Linked DNA regions of Homo sapiens: region 1 is linked to region 2. Evidence: promoter capture Hi-C in 16 types of primary human blood cells and fetal thymus (Javierre and others, 2016). All regions are on one chromosome and are shown on one strand. The core of a region is centred on a gene start or on the middle of the fragment in contact, and the rest is flanking DNA. Distances in the headings are between cores, read along the strand shown.

Evidence for each region. The method cuts DNA at HindIII sites, captures the fragments that hold promoters and counts their contacts. A CHiCAGO score of 5 or more calls a contact.
Region 1: a contact is called between a fragment that was not itself captured here and the fragment with the promoter of TEX19 in region 2, in 1 of 17 cell types (activated CD4 T cells). The highest score is 5.6, in activated CD4 T cells.

The regions. Positions count from the first base shown.
Region 1 is chr17:82,263,419-82,266,426 of GRCh38, forward strand. It overlaps CSNK1D (casein kinase 1 delta), which reads right to left. Exons shown (of 9, transcript NM_001893.6): 2 at 2,268-2,378. Among named protein-coding and RNA genes, the nearest start is that of CSNK1D, 8.8 kb to the right of the region's middle. RefSeq lists an enhancer at 2,267-2,998. The HindIII fragment of the contact is 2,024 bases long and covers 315-2,338 here.
Region 2 is chr17:82,357,616-82,360,624 of GRCh38, forward strand. It overlaps TEX19 (testis expressed 19), which reads left to right and starts at 1,632. Exons shown (of 2, transcript NM_207459.4): 1 at 1,632-1,670. RefSeq lists a silencer at 2,818-3,009. The HindIII fragment of the contact is 12,499 bases long and covers 1-3,009 here.

The DNA of each region.
Region 1 (3,008 bases), core at 77-2,576, 95 kb before region 2:
AGCCAGCGGCCACAGGGGAAGCAACTTTGCCTGCCAGGGGCCTTCAGCACTGTCTGAAGAAAGTTTTGAGTATCACAACTAGGGGCAGGGGTGCTGCCAACATCTACCATGCAGAGAACGCACCACTACAAATGGCACTAGTGCCGAGTGGAGAAGTCCTGTCCGGAACCACGTAGCACTTTTTGGTTCAGGGTTGGCTTCCCCAGTGACCATCCCGGGCTTCTAAGGACTGGCTTTCTTCCCTTTGCCCTTGTGTACCCCTGGCTTGCAAGTTCTCCTGGAGACATCTCTCGTAAAAACTTAAGGTGTTTTTAAGCTTGCAGGTTTTACTTGACCCCAGCACCAGGCTCCCGCAGGCCAAGGCCACACCCCGCACCACCCTGCTCTATTGGCTCGTCACACCTTCAAGGCAATGCAGGCTCCAGGCCCTTGAGAAGCCAGTCCACCACCAAGGGCCGCCAGACAGGCTCCCAGGGCGGAGTCTCTGCTGAGCTTTCCCTGGGTTGGTGATGGGATTTTTCATTCCTGTGGCCTCCTCTGGTCACGTGAGGCCCGTGATGGGACACACTGGGTGCCCCTCTCTGTAACGGGTTCCCCAGGACCACAGGTGCTGCCAAAGATATTTTGTGTCACATAAACTTAGAAACGTCGGTTTCTTGTAGTAGCACAGATTACGTGCTTGTGCTGAGAAAAGATGTCAAAGAATCAAATCAACAGTCCTCCCTTTCCCGTGACAAAAGGGCTAACAGAGGCCCTGAACAGGTTTTCCTTTGGCCAGTTGCCCAAGGGGACTCACCCAACCATCCACCTACAAATGTGCCGCGGAGCCTTCTCACTGGGAGGGCTCCACAGACGTGGCACAGCCACTCTTCAGACAAAAAGCTCTGTTCCCAAAGAGGGCTCCTGCCAGACCGAAGCTCTGCTGTTGAGACACACGCTTCATGGCTCTGAAATCCCCGCAGAGAATACCCTCCTGCTCCATCAGCCCAACTGTTTGAAAGTCCAGGGAACTCGCAAGAGCTGGACTCTGAGGGGAGGACAGGAGCGCTCTGCTCCACACCTGGCCCACCGTGGAACACCAGGTACCTAAGGCCCTGGGCTGAGGGCTCGCAGAACTGGGACAGTAACTGAGCTGGAAGAGGTCATGATGGTCGCCAAGTTCAAAACCCTTGTTTTGCTCGGAGAAAACGAGCCCAGAGAGTATGAAGGGACTTCCCCCAAGCTATAAGCAAAGCATGCGAAGGAGCAGAGGCCTCACTCAGGGATCACACATCAGGAAGGCCCCACTGAGCAACACACGTGCCACTGGCAACAGCTCCAGTGACCACTGAGGGGCACACGACACCACGGGGAGCATGCATTGAAATTCACACAAAATCTTTTTTTTTTTTTTTTTTGAGACGGAGTCTCGCTCTTTCATCCAGGCTGGACTGCAGTGGCGCTATCTGGGCTCACTGCAAGCTCTGCCTCCCGGGTTCACGCCATTCTCCTGCCTCAGCCTCCCAAGTAGCTGGGACTACAGGCGCCCGCCACCACGAACGGCTAACTTTTTTTGTATTTTTAGTAGAGACGGGGTTTCACTGTGTTAGCCAGGATGGTCTCGAGCTCCTGACCTCGTGATCCGCCTGCCTCGGCCTCCCAAAGTGCTGGGATTACAGGTGTGAGCCACTGCGTCTGGCCTATTCACACACACTCTTGATTTCAGAAACCATGACCCAATATGAAGCAAAATTTAAACAAAAGGACAAGATGGTATAAGATTTTTTTTTTTTTTGGGGGGGACAGGGTCTCACTCTGTCGCCCAGGCTGGAGTGCAGTGGCGTGATCTCGGCTCACCGCAACCTCTGCCTCCCAGACTCAGGCGATTCTCCTGCCTCAGCCTCCCAAACAGCTGGGATTACAGGTGCACGCCATCACACTTGGCTAATTTTTGTATTTTTAGTAGAGACGGGGTTTCACTACGTTGGCCAGGCTAGTCTCAAACTACTGACCTCAAATGATCCACCCATCTTGGCCTCCCAAAGTGCTGGGATTCCAGGCGTGAGCCACCATGCCCGGCCCATAAGATGTTTCTTTGTGTTGAGGGAGGGTCTCTGGACCCAAGACTCTCTGAAGGAAGCTGTGACTGCTTTGTCAGGGTGTGGAGAACACTTCCCTCCCTTTTGCCCAGAACCAGTTTTGGGTTTATTTTAACCAGCAATGCTGAGTTGCTGTTCTCCCTTGTCAAACAGAACCCTGGTGTTGCTCTGTGACTGGTAAAGACCTACCTCCTCCCTGCATCATCTTGTAGATTTTGCTCTCAATGTGGAGCTGAGGGTGTTTGGTTTTGACACATTCAAGCTTGATGGCAACCTCTTCTCCTGCAGCAATGTCCGTACCTTGGCAAAGAAAGAAAACCACAACAGGAATTACCTGGTATCCACCAAATAACCCAACATGCTGGAGAAACAACAAGCACTATGTGTTTTCCATGAAGGACCAAGTGAGGGATGTGTTCTCCTTCCTAGCATAGTAAGGCGGGCTAATCGGCTGACACATCTCTGGGGGAAGTTATCCATATTCCCATTTTCACAACAGGACGAATTTGAACTGCACAGAAAGTTTATGTGGCTTCCATCACCCGCCCACCAGTCTTCAGGTGCTGCAGCTCCCTCTCCACAGTGGCCCTTCTGGTCTGCATCCTCCCATCAGCCCTGCCCAAGGCCCCTGCACTTGCCCGCCCCAGACAGCCTGTGGTAGAGCTCCACGGTGCCATTCCCTTTTCTCCATGCTGCCTGATAGGCCTCCGAGGGGGTGGTTTGAGTTTCCCCCTGAGGAAGGGCTAGGTTTTTACCCAATAGCCACAGTCCCAGTCCACCCAGGCCTGGCATCACAGGCAGCGGGAGTCATCTCTAGCCAACCTATTGCAGGCAAACACCCTCCACCAGGCGGAGGGAGGCCCTTCTCCCTTCCTGGGGACACAAAGCCAGAAGAATCGCCTGTTTTCAACGCCCTAAATGTACCACCTA
Region 2 (3,009 bases), core at 382-2,881:
GATCTGAGCCCTAACCTGGTGGGGGTGGCAGGCAGCCCCAGGTGTGTGGATGACCTGAGCCAGGCACAGACAGCTGCCAGGTGGGGAGGAGCAGAGGTCATGGGGATGTAGGGAAAGGGTTTGGGGGTTCCTCCCACAGGGCCACTGTGTGAGACAATTTGTCACTTTCTTACAAAACTAAACACACTCTGACCACAGCATCCAGCAATCTCACTCCTTAGAGTTTACCAAAATGAGTTGAGAACTTATGTCTACAGACACCTGCACATGAATATTTGTAGTAGCTTTATTCATAATTGCCCAAACCTGGGAGCAACCAAGATGTCTTTCCATAGGTGAATGGATAAATAAACCATGGTACATCCAGACAATGGAATACCATTCAGTGTTAAAAAATAAGTGAGCTGGCCATGCAAGGTGGCTCACGTCTGTAATCCCAGCACTGTGGGAGGCAGAGGCAGGCGGATCACTTGAGCCCAAGTGTTTGATACCAGTGTGGGCAACATGGTGAGGCCCTGTCTCACAAAAAATACAAAACTTATCGGGGTGTGCACCAGCACCTGTAGTCCCAGCTATTTGGGAGGCTGAGGTGAGAAAATCACAGGAGCCCAGGAGGTTGAGGCTGTAGTAGCTGTGATTTCACCAGTGCATTCCAGCCTGGGTGACAGAGCAAGACTCTGTCTCAAAAAAAAAAAAAAAAAAAAAAAGAAGTGAACTATCAAACCACAAAAGACATGGAAGAACCAAAGTGCGTATTACTAAAAAAGAAGTTGAAAAGGCTACATAATGTATGAGTCCAGCTCTGTGACATTTTGGAAAAGGCAAAATTAAGGAGACAGTCAAAAGATTCCTGGTTGCCAGGGGCTGGGAGAGGGAGTGATGAAAATGCAGAACACAGATGAATCGGGGCGGAGAAACCCGTCTGTACAATATTAGAGTGGTGGGTCTGCATGATTATACATGTGTCCAAACCTGCAGAATGCACAGCACCGGAGGAAAGCATAATGGAAACTGCAGAGGGCGATGATGATAATAACAACGTGTAACAAATGGCTGGGACGGGAGGACTGGGGAAGGCTGTGCACCTGCAGGAGCAGGGGAGCGGTGGGAGAGCTCCATGCTTTTGGCTCAATTTTGCTATGAACCTAAAACTGCTGTAAAAAATAGAGTCTACTGAAAAAACAAGTGTTAATTTATAAGCGTCTTGTTTAAAGAGCGAAGAGATGAACCACAAAGGGGAAAATGTGTTTAAACAATAACTAATTGACAATTGGCTGGTTCTTAAAATTCAGAGAACTTTAAGACAGAGACAGCAAAGCAGGGATCACGTTTTACAAACGCGGCAGGACCAGGACGTCGTGCCCACGACGGGCCAGCAACCACAGGCTGGATGCTCACCCTGTGCCAGCCTGCAGACGGAGAGCACCCACCCCAATCTCCAGCCCCCAGAGGAGCTGCCTCTCCAGGGCCTTCCTGCAGGTGCCCAGGGGCTGCACATGGCCCTCCTTGGAGGGAGCTGGTGACTCAGCACTTTCATTTCCTGGAAACTGAGGCTCATGGGAGATATGCAGATGAGCCCAGAGCACCATGGGAAATGGCCCTTTATATACCCAAATGGGCTCTGCCTCCTCCTTTCCCTGGGTGCCCACATGAACAGAGACACCAGGATGGTGAGATCTCCCGAGGAGGGGTCTCTGAGGAGGGGTCTCGGAGACACGGCCTGGTGCTGGGTGAGGGGTTGGGAGGCTGAAGCGGGGCCAGGATTCCTCAGGTTCCCTCAGTTTCCCTCAAATTTCCCTCAGTTTCCCTCAGGTTCCCTAAGGTTCTCCAAGTTCCCTCAAATTTCCCTCAGTTTCCCTCAGGTTCCCTCAGTTTCCCTCAAGTTTCCCTCAGTTTCCCTCAGGTTCCCTCAGTTTCCCTCAGGTTCCCTCAGTTTCCCTCAAGTTTCCCTCAGTTTCCCTCAGGTTCCCTCAGTTTCCCTCAAGTTTCCCTCAGGTTCCCCCAGTTTCCCTCAAGTTTCCCTCAGCTTCCCTCAGGTTCCCCCAGTTTCCCTCAGGTTCCCTCAGTTTCCCTCAAGTTTCCCTCAGTTTCCCCCAGTTTCCCTCAAATTTCCCTCAGTTTCCCTCAGGTTCCCTCAGTTTCCCCCAGCTTCCCTCAGGTTCCCTCAGTTTCCCTCAAGTTCCCCTCAGTTTCCCCCAGTTTCCCTCAGGTTCCCCCAGTTTCCCTCAAGTTCCCCTCAGGTTCCCCCAGTTTCCCTCAAGTTTCCCTCGGGTTCCCCCAGTTTCCCTCAGGTTCCCCCAGTTTCCCTCAGTTTCCCTCAAGTTTCCCTCAGGTTCCCCCAGTTTCCCTCAGGTTCCCTCAGTTTCCCTCAAGTTTCCCTCAGGTTCCCCCAGTTTCCCTCAGGTTCCCTCAGGTTCCCCCAGTTTCCCCCAGGTTCCCCCAGTTTCCCCCAGTTTCCCTCAAGTTTCCCTCAGGTTCCCCCAGTTTCCCTCAGGTTCCCTCAGTTTCCCTCAAGTTTCCCTCAGGTTCCCCCAGTTTCCCTCAGGTTCCCTCAGTTTCCCTCAGGTTCCCCCAGTTTCCCCCAGGTTCCCCCAGTTTCCCCCAGTTTCCCTCAAGTTTCCCTCAGGTTCCCCCAGTTTCCCTCAGGTTCCCTCAGGTTCCCCCAGTTTCCCCCAGTTTCCCTCAGGTTCCCCCAGTTTCCCTCAGGTTCCCTCAGTTTCCCTCAGGTTCCCCCAGTTTCCCTCAGTTTCCCCCAGTTTCCCTCAAGTTTCCCTCAGGTTCCCCCAGTTTCCCTCAGGTTCCCTCAGTTTCCCTCAGGTTCCCCCAGTTTCCCTCAGGTTCCCTCAAGTTTCCCTCAGGTTCCCCCAGTTTCCCTCAGGTTCCCTCAGGTTCCCTCAGTTTCCCTCAGGTTCCCCCAGTTTCCCTCAGTTTCCCCCAGTTTCCCTCAAGTTTCCCTCAGGTTCCCCCAGTTTCCCTCAGGTTCCCCCAGTTTCCCTCAGGTTCCCTCAG